2 separate regions of the Homo sapiens genome follow, and region 1 is linked to region 2. Evidence: promoter capture Hi-C in human tissues and cell types (Jung and others, 2019). All regions are on one chromosome and are shown on one strand. The core of a region is centred on a gene start or on the middle of the fragment in contact, and the rest is flanking DNA. Distances in the headings are between cores, read along the strand shown.

What was found. The method cuts DNA at HindIII sites, captures the fragments that hold promoters and counts their contacts. A contact is called where the count stands out against the background at its distance.
Region 1: a contact is called between a fragment that was not itself captured here and the fragment with the promoter of CCDC54 in region 2, in 2 of the 25 tissues and cell types used here (H1 embryonic stem cells and dorsolateral prefrontal cortex).

Annotation. Positions count from the first base shown.
Region 1 is chr3:107,230,452-107,235,437 of GRCh38, reverse strand. All of the region lies in intron 1 of LINC00882 (long intergenic non-protein coding RNA 882), which reads left to right. It overlaps LOC124909404 (a long non-coding RNA gene), which reads right to left. Exons shown (of 2, transcript XR_007095994.1): 2 at 3,940-4,570. Among named protein-coding and RNA genes, the nearest start is that of LINC00882, 7.7 kb to the left of the region's middle. The HindIII fragment of the contact is 3,445 bases long and covers 1-2,977 here.
Region 2 is chr3:107,374,705-107,379,974 of GRCh38, reverse strand. It overlaps CCDC54 (coiled-coil domain containing 54), which reads right to left and starts at 2,536. Exons shown (of 1, transcript NM_032600.3): 1 at 1,340-2,536. The coding sequence starts at 2,387. The coding sequence ends at 1,401. The HindIII fragment of the contact is 13,990 bases long and covers 1-5,270 here.

The DNA of each region.
Region 1 (4,986 bases), core at 6-2,505, 140 kb after region 2:
TCCTGGGCTTCTCTGCAATTTGTAAAGAGCTCAGGGGCTGTCTCCTGGATGTAAGTCAGCCCATGTGCAAATGCGTATGTGTGAGCATGCGAGTAGGATGTTATATGTTCCACGTTTTAGACTCTGAGGGCTGCTAGTTCCTGCATGGCAGACCTTCCCCTTGGGATTAACTAATAAGGTGCTAGCGTTCCCCGTCACTCAGCAAAAGTAGTTAGAAGCTTGGGGCCTTGCTTCAGCATTTGTTTTTTTGCTGGGACTCTTTCTCCATGAGGAACACGACTGGAGAAGAAACGTTCGATATTTAGAAAATTAAATGTATCCATGTTATGATAGATGTAGAAATCCAGTCCAAACTGCTCGTGAAAGATGTAGTTTTTGCTATAAGTACTATAGGAGTGTCACTTCTAAAACTTCCAAAGTTCCTACTTCAAAGGCACAATGATGGATTTTAAAAAATAAAACTTTGAGAAAACATTTACATGGTTTATTTCAGGTAACAATTAATAACCTGATTCCTTAATGCTTGGGGCTGTTACGTTCATAGCATTGCTTTTAGTGCTATCATTTCCTATTTCTCTTGTATGACATATTGTATTAGTCTGTTTTCATGCTAGTAATAAAGACATACCTGAGACTGGGCAATTTACAAAAGAAAGAGGTTTAATTGGACTTAAACTTCCACGTGGCAGGGGAAGCTTTACAATCATGACAGAAGGCAAGGAAGAGCAAGTCATGTCTTACGTGGATGGCAGCAAGCAAAGAGAGAGAGCTTGTGCACGGGAATTCCTCTTTTTAAAACCATTAGATCTCATGAAACTTTTTCATATCATGAGAACAGCATGGGAAAGACTTGCCCGCGTGATTCAATTACCTCCCACCAGGTCCCTCCCACAACACGTGAGAATTAAAGATGCGATTTGGGTGGGGACACAGCCAAACCATATCATTCCTCCCCTGGCTCCTCCCAAATCTCATGTCCTCACATTTCAAAATCAATCATGCCTTTTCAACAGTCCCCCAAAGTCTTAACTCATTTCAGCATTCACTCAAAAGTCCACATCTGATACAAGGCAAGTCCCTTCTGCCTATGAGCCTGTAAAATCAAAAGCAAGTTAGTTACTTCCTGGATACAATGTGGGTACAGGCATTGGGTAGCCATTCCAAATGGGAGACATTGGCCAAAAGAAAGTTGCTACAGGCCCCATGCAAGTCCGAAATCCAGCGGGGCAGTCAAATCTTAAAGCTCCAAAATGATCTTTTTTCACTCCATGTCTCACATCCAGGTCATGCTCACACAAGAGGTAGGTTCCCATGGTCTTGGGCAGCTCCGCCCCTGTGGCTTTGCAGGGTACAGCACTCCTCCTGGCTGTTTTCAGGGACTGGCCTTGAGTGTCTATGGTTTTTCCAGGCACACGGCACAAGCTGTTGGTGGATCCACCATTCTGGGGTCTGGAGGATGATGGTCCTCTTCTCACAGCTCCACTAGGCTGTGCCTCAGTAGGGACTCTGTATGGGGGCTCTGACCCCACATTTCCCTTCCACACTGCCCTAGCAGAGGTTCTCCATGAGGGCCCCACCCCTGCAGCAAACTTTTGCCTGGGCATCCAGACATTTCCATACATCTTCTGAAATCTAGGTGGAGGTTCCCAAACCTCAAATCTTGACTTGTAAGCACCCACAGGCCCAACACCACATGGAAGCTGCCCAGGTTTGGGGCTTGCACTCTCTGAAGAAACAGCCTGAGCTGTACCTTGGCCCCTATTACTCACCGCTGGAGTGCCTGGGACTCAGGGCACCAAGTCCCTAGGCTGCACACAGAATGGGGACCCTGGGCCTGGCCCAGGTAACCATTTTCTCCCAGGCCTTCTGGCCTGTGATGGGAGGGACTGCCATGAAGACCTCTGACTTGCCCTGGAGACACCTTTCCCATTGTCTTGGGGATTAACATTCAGCTCCTCGTTACTTATGCAAATTTCTGCAGCCAGTTTGAATTTCTCCTCAGAAAATGGGTTTTTCTTTTCTATCACATTGTCAAGCTGCAAATTTTCCAAACTTTTTATGCTCTGCTTCCCTTATAAACTGAATGCATTTAATAGCACTGAAGTCACATCTTAAATGCTTTGCTGCTTAGAAATTTCTTCTGCCAGATACCCTAAATCATCTCTCTCAAGTTCAAAGTTCCACAAATCTCTAGGGCAGGAGCAAAATGCTGCCAGTCTCTTTGCTAAAACATAACAAGAGTTACCTTTGCTCCAGTTCCCAACAAGTCCCTCATCTCCATCTGAGACCACCTCAGCTTGGACCTTATTATCTATGTTGCTATCAGGCTTTTGGTCAAAGCCATTCAACAAGTCTTTAGGAAGTTCCAAAGTGTCCCACATTTTCCTGTCTTCCTATGAGCCCTCCAAACTGTTCTAACCTCTACCTATTACCCAGTTCCAAAGTTGCTTTCACATTTTTGGGTGTCTTTTCAGCCACACCCCACTCTACTGGTACCAATTTACTGTATTAGTCCATTTTTCATGCTGCTGATAAAGACATACCTGAGACTGGGCAATTTACAAAAGAAAAGGGTTTAACTGGATTAGTTCCATGTGGCCGGGGAAGCCTGGGGAATTCCTCTTTTTAAAACCATCAGATCTCATGAAACTTACTATCAAGAGAACAGCATGGGAAAGACTTGCCCCCATGATTCAGTTACTTCCCACTGGGTCCCTCCCACAACACGTGGGAATTCAAGATGAGATTTGAGTGGGGGCATAGCCAAACCATATCACTTATTAATATTTATTTTCTCAAAGTTATATTCTCCATTTGGGCAGTGCTAAAGATGAGAAGAAACACAGGGCAGGCTATGTCTTTAAGACTTTTATAGTAATTTAGAAAACTGTAGAACCATAGCATGATAATCATGGAAGAGTGAGGTGGGGCCAAGAGTAAGAAAATAATCTCCCCATTATCTTTTATTCTATCAGTTTATCCTATCCCCTCCCCCGCATCCCATCCACATCCCCTCCCATTTCTCCGTTCTACTCTTTACTATTTCATTTTATTTGTATTGATATTTAAATTTCAAATCAGGAATACTGGCTATTCTGTTTATGTAATTTTGCTCAATCCATAGTACAATGTTTGCATATAGTTGCAATAAATCTCTGTTATGAACACCAACACACTTACTAATTGCCTAGCATTATGCTGCTCCTATGTAAAACAGTTGTACATTTGATTTCAGGAAAGGAGAAAAGTGAAGTTGGAGGGAATTTATGTAGACCTATAGGAAGAACTAGAAATATTTGTTTGTATTCAGACTCTTAGGGGCAATGAGAAAGTTCATTAGTGAAAAAAGCTAGAACACAAAAATTTCACCTTGTAAGTATCTGCGGAAATATTTCTCTTTAATGGTTTTCTTATGTTGCTAAGAAGGATCAACTTTTAACATTTCCCTTTGTGTAGTTTCTTGTCAGATCTGTGTACACGCACCTACCAAAGATAGGGTGGGAATTTGCATTTTTTATCAATCCCGGAGAGCCGATAAGTTTAGAAAAAGAAATTTAAACTTACTTTTTTTTAGAATCAAGAACTAACTTACTAGTGTTTCGCTGTACAAAATTTACAGTTAATTGAAACTTGGTTTTGCCTTCTGAACTGTTTGCAACCCAAATTGTCTGCTCTTATTTGTTTTACTTAAATTGTATTGAATACTAATATCTAACAAAGTTGTAGCCCTAAGTGGTTCCAAAATTTCATTAAGTTACTGAGAAGTGGATCTTCTCTGCAAATGTATTGTGGTGTATATGATCTCTTTTCTTCCCCTTCTATGGTTCCAGGGACTCTTCATAGAAAGTTTGGAACTATTTTCTGTTACGTGGTAGTGGTAGAAATTTGGATGGAGGAAGTTCACAGGGTTAAAAAAATAAATTGTTGATAATAACAAAATAGTTTCAAGGCTTCTTTTAATTCTCATATTTTGTGATTTTCCTTCACATCAGACATTGCATAAAGTATGTTAAAACAAGGTCCCAACTTTTGAGTTTCATTTCAATTAGACAGTAAACTATTGTCTAATCACTAGGAAATATTTTGTGAGTGTTTCATTGCATAGGGTGCTGGAATAGATGCTGATTAGAGAGAACTGCACAGACTATGTTCCTGTCCTCAGGTTATTTATAATAGCATGTGAGATGAAAACTTAAAAAAGGTCAAAACACAGAATTAGAGGAAAAGGTGAGTAAAGTATTTAGCATTTTACTTCTATTTCAGTAAAATGTCTCTTGGGAGCCTTGGGAGGCAGGATAGAATGATTAAAAATGTTCAAAGAACAAACCTTCATGTCAAATTATCCACCTGAAAAGCTGGAATTCATAAGCGTAGACCTCCTGTAAGATACAGCAAAGAATCAGCCTTTCTCTACCCCTAGACTCCCTACGTCTTGTTTAAGCCTGGATCATCTCGGTTTGGATTGCAGAAAACCAATGGAAATTGTTAGAGCTCCTCCTTATTGATCTTCCTTGCACAGCCATATAGATAATATGGTTGAGATTTAGAAGAAAAAAGAAGGTCCACGTGACTGAAAAAAAAAAAAAACTGTGTTACTGAGATGCTGAAAATACATGATTAAGTAGCCCAAATAGACAACACAAATAATTTATGTATCTTTTAAGTTGGTCAGTATGAGGTTTGTATTTAAATTGCATCTCTCCTCAATTCAAATTGCCTTAGGCTTTTGGGTATTTAAAAATATTTTGTATTCATGAACACTTCTTTTATAATTGATGTAGATGCTTGCTTATAGCCCAAGTCTAATTTGTAAGCTGGAAAGTTCATTTATTTATTCATTTTACATCTATTATATATTAGATATAATAATTGATGAGCCAAATATGATGGTATGATGGTAGGGATTGTTTTTTTGTTTTGTTTTGTTTTGTTTTTGAGACAGAATTTTGCTCTTGTTGCCCAGGCTGGAGTGCAGTGGTGCGATCT
Region 2 (5,270 bases), core at 1,287-3,786:
TTTGTCAATGAAAAAATAATGTGTTATATAATTACTCCCAGATTGGCGTCAGACGAAGCTGTGTCTTAATTTTTGCTGTGCCCACCTTTAGGTCCTTTGTCCTCTTTCATTTGTTCTCAGCTAGCTACCAAAACCCCCCTTTCAAAGTATTGACTGCAAATAATTAAGTGTAGTACATTTGCCAGGAATATTTGTGGTTTAATATATGACCACAAAGGAAGGTAGCGTTCATTCACTGAGTTAAGTGGTGAAGGAAACATTGTTTTTCAGTTATTCTGCATGATATTCAGAAATTACAATGACAACCACCTGTTATATCTAAAAATGAAGCTCTTCTTGGCTATATGCTTTAAACAAACAAACAAAGAAAAACCTATCATATAAGAGTTTATGGTATTATAGTGGTAAGATTTAACTTAGTTCACAAACCCCTTCTTAGATCTTCCCTTTTCCCCTGCATCAAACCTATAGGACATGGTATTTTTCTCCTTTCATGAAAATGTAAAAATTACCCAGTATCATATTGTCTTTCTCCTCTTATCTAATTGTTTCATAGAAAAGAAGCTGAAGTTGAAAGAAAAAGCCAATATTTTGAATATGTTCCTTGCAATAACTTAGCCTTTCAATCCCTTTCATTTTTATACTGCTAACTTTAGTAGCCTTGACAATGGGTATCCTTTTCACTCTATACTACCTAAAGTCTGACCGGGCGTGGTGGTTCATGCCTGTAATCCCAGCTCTTTGGCAGGTCGAGGTGGGTGGCTCGCTTGAGGCCAGGTGTTTGAGACCAGCCTGGTCAACATGGTGAAACTCTGTCTCTACTAAAAATACAAAAATTAGCTGGGTGTGGTAGCGTGCGCCTGTAATTCCAGCTACTCAGGAGGCCGAGGTAGGAGAATCACTTGAACCCGGGAGGTGGAGGTTGCAGTGACCCGAGATTGCACCACTACACTCCAGCTGGGTGACAGAGTGAGACTCCATTTCAAAAATAAATAACAAATAAAATGAAGTCTTGTCAGTAGTGTATGTTTCTGGTATCACAAACCGTATCCACAAAGGCCACGAGGACAAAGTGTATAGAAAACTGACATGGAGGCCACCAAACATACTACACATTGCCCTGGACTCCTTCATTCTTTGTTTCCAATTATCTATGAAAATGGACCCAGGATGAGTCCTCATGAATTGCCTTTGAGAAAACAAGAACATTGAGAGAAAACGAATTACAACAGTTCAATTAGATCATGTGCCTTAACTTACTGTAGACATAGAGAAACTCTGCAGATAGTGGGCCCAGAGTGAGCAAACTACCGAAGAATTCACAGCCACCACACCAATGTGTGAATACTTGGAGCCTCCAGGTTACATTTATTTTGTGCCAAGCAAAGCAGAACATAACTCTATAGTCGAGTTACTTCTTCTTTTAAGGAACAAATAAAGCCGTAAATATTGTTGAAGATGGAGAGACAGATTGTGGTCAAGCTCAAAATGGGCCCAGTGAATGGACAGTATCTCTGGGTTATGACCTGGGGTTCCTCAGGAAGAATGGTTGGCCTAGAAAGAAGCCACTGGATGAATTCTTCTAACTTGGTAGCACTGAGGAAAAATGTCCATTTTCCTCCATGAACAAAAGTTAGCTTGATCCATGTACTGAAGTCTGGGTAAATGTAAATATTTGGCTTTGCTTTTTCAAAGCTCCTTGATGCATTTTGATGGTTACGTTTCTTCAGAGTTTTCATTTGGGGAGAAATTGTTTTTTTCTCAAGATGGTCAGTGGACTTTGGATAACTGGGCACTTTCTCTGGTTCTGCTGAAGAGATTTCCATGTCTGTAGAGGCCAAAGTGTTCTTCAGAGTTGCTGGTTGTATGAGTTTGTAAAGCAGTTCTGTGATTTCTTTACCCCTTTCTCCCTCCAGAATCTCTAGACAATGTATCGTGGAGCAGGAATTCTGAATTTCCAGTTCTGTCACCTTCTTCTTTAATGCCTTGATGTCTTCTTTCATAGAGAGGATATCTTTAGTCGTTGTGCATTGTTTGTCTTCATTAACATTCATTCTGGTTTCCAGGACCTCCATCTGTTTTTGATACAAGTCAGTCTTTTCCTGGACTTTTGGTATCATATGGACAATGTCAGTCATTTGGCTGAAAAGTTCAACTTGAGCAGTTTTAACATCTTGGAGCACTACTGGAAGATTCATTTTTCCGTCATAACTATCATCATCTTGATTACAATCATCAGATGTCACAGTGGGATATCCAGTTGAATCTTGGTGCCGAATCTTACATTTGTGGTAAACATTTTTAAGAGACTGTCTGACCTTGGAGAGATTTGAAGTCCACATCTGCCTAGCAGCAGCTTTTACCCTTTTGGTGTGAAGTGTGTACATCTTTCATGGTGAAACAAGAGGCAAGGTGTTGGAAAACAGAATCACAGGAAGAAATAATGTACAAATGAAATGGTCCTTCTCTTACTATTTGTTGGATGCCTTTCCTGATAACATCTTAGAACACTCTGGAAATCATCAGCCACAGCAATAGACACTGTTAGGTGATTAGCTTCTTATAGAGCAGCCCAACCAGAGAGCTCTGTGAAATAATAGTCAACTGCATGGAATCTTTCATATGGTAATCATTGACCTGCTGCTGATGTCACAATGACTGCTGGCTTAGAACAAACATATTTAACTACAGCAGTTCTCAAAAGTTTTGGTCATAGGGCTCTTTTTGAATCATAGAAATTGTTGAGCAGCCTGAGGAACACAGAAAAACACCTGTTGCTACAAAAAAATAAAAAAATTAGCCAGCCATGGTGGTGCATGCCTGTAGCCTCAGCTACTTGGGAGGCTGAGGTGGGAGGATCACTTGAGCACAGGGGGTGGAGACTGTAGTATGCCATGATGGTACCACTGCACTCCAGCCTGGGCGACAGTACAAGACTCTGTCTCAAAATGAATAAATAAATAAATAAATAAATAAAAATAAAAATGAAAAATTATTGAGGATCACACAGATTTTGTTTATTTGGGTTATATCTACCTACATTTTATAGTAGACATTAAAACTAAGAAAGTCTTAGATAATTAGTTATTAATTTAAATTTAAAAACCCATTACATGTTAACATAAGTGATATATTTTCATAAAAAATAATTTGGTTTTCTAAAAAAAAAGTGAGAAGAGTGGCATTGTTTTACATATCTGCAAGTGTTTTAAATACCTGAATTAATAGAAGATAACTAGATTCTCATATCTGCTTCTGCATTATATCTGTTGTGATATATTATTTTGAAGTATATGAAGAAAAAATAGCCTCATGGAGTTACGTAAATGGAAAGGGGAGAGTATTTTCATAGCTTTTTCAGATAATTGAGGATATCATTCTTTGCTACTTTATGAAAATTTGACAAATGATTTTTTTTAAGAAGTTAGCTGCAATGTGTCATTTTAGGCCAAATCAAAGAAGTTTCATACTCTGTTATATTAATAGCCGCTGGTCTATTTTTTATTTTGAATAGATGCATAATATCATGTATTGGTCATTTGGCAAACAATGGTTCACTGAATTATGTAGGTCTTCCAAATGTCAACTCATTGTATTATATAATATCAAAATATCATTTTCATTAATATCTCCACCAATCTCACCAGAAAAGTCTTTGAGTACTGAGAAGAGGCCAAGCTCATGGTAGCAAATGCAGATTTTTCAAAATTCTAATTTTAGCTTGAAAATCTTGAAATTTATCAAGCTGGTTTATTGTTTTCCTTGAAGTGACAGATTCCCTCCATCCATTTTTTGCAAAAATGCTTGCCAAATGCCCAACTATGAACACTGTAGTTTGTTGTCAGTTTTTTTCAAGAAAAAATAGTGTTCCATGAAAAAAGCACACATTTGTAATTCAAATACTTATGTACGTTTCCTCATGAAAACCAGTATACTTTGTTAAGCTGCAGAAGCACTTATGTTTACTTCCCATTATATCATACATAATATAAAAAAGATGTACTGAAGGGTTGAGATCTAATAAGATTAAAAATTCTTACTGCTTCATTGAGGACATTCTTGAGTGAAACTGGTTTTTCTTGTATTTTTTTCCTTTTCTGATTGAGTCACTGTTAGTCAGTGTGGTACCCCTGCTGTAGTTCATGCTAAGGTATCAACAGTTTTACCCACCATTGCTTTTGCAATGTAATTTTCAACAGGCAAATGTAAGCACAGTGGAAGAGACAAACGGTGTCCTGGGATTATTTTGAAATATTGTTGCCCTCATTGTCACACTTACAGAGTGGTCTCATGACACAAAGCATTCCACACTTTGAGAGCCACTGCCTTAGAATTTAAAAATAACAGCAGCCATTTCTCATGTTCCTTCTTATAGGTTTTTCTACATAACAGTATTTGAAATTCAAACCCTTTGAAATATTAAATAATATTTGGCCCATTTTATATATTGAGGTAAAAACTTAATTTTATTCTCTAAACACATTAGACTGAACACTCTGGAATCAAAATGACGTGTTACTCACATGTCTCTCAAGGAGCAGTCCCATTCTACTCAAAAGGACATTCCCTCTTGGATCCATGCCAATTCCAACCTTCTACCAAATCACTGTTTCTTCTATCTGTGCCCAATTGGAGGGTCAGTGTTGGCCCAGGATTTGGTACAAACAGTGAGCTTTTCCAGCAGTAATTTTAAAATTTTGGCTCATCAATAATATCTGGGATTTTGCCTTACTCTCCTATCTTTCAAATGCTGTTTAGTAACCTTTCGAAAATGTCTAGAAACCTTTCCAAACACTTGCTGAGGAAAATATTCTCCAAGAGGCAGACTATCACAGGAATGGCATTTGGGGCTTGGAAAGGTTAGAGTTCACAGCCGTCCCGTTTACTCTGGCTAAGGCCATTTTATCCGTCGAGTTCTGCAGACACAGTACTTAGGGCCCATACAGTTTTTAAGGGCCAATGAAAATACTTAAGAACAGAAGAAAAAAAAAACAGTGGCTCAGAATACTGAAAGAAAGCTGCAAGATTGAAGCAATAAATGTTTAATGAAACGTCTCTGAAATGTACTATGTCATATTCATTAATTGTTAGATTTAGTATTATTAAAATTTCATTACATTTGGAGGCAATTTGTGTATTACGTATTCTCACTTTCCAAGAATTCCCAGTTAAATGAGAGGGACTGCTTGTCATAATTACTCCCTCCAGGTTAATAACAGCTAAGACTTGTTGGGTGCATACCAGACACTGCTCTAAGTATTAGCTTACTT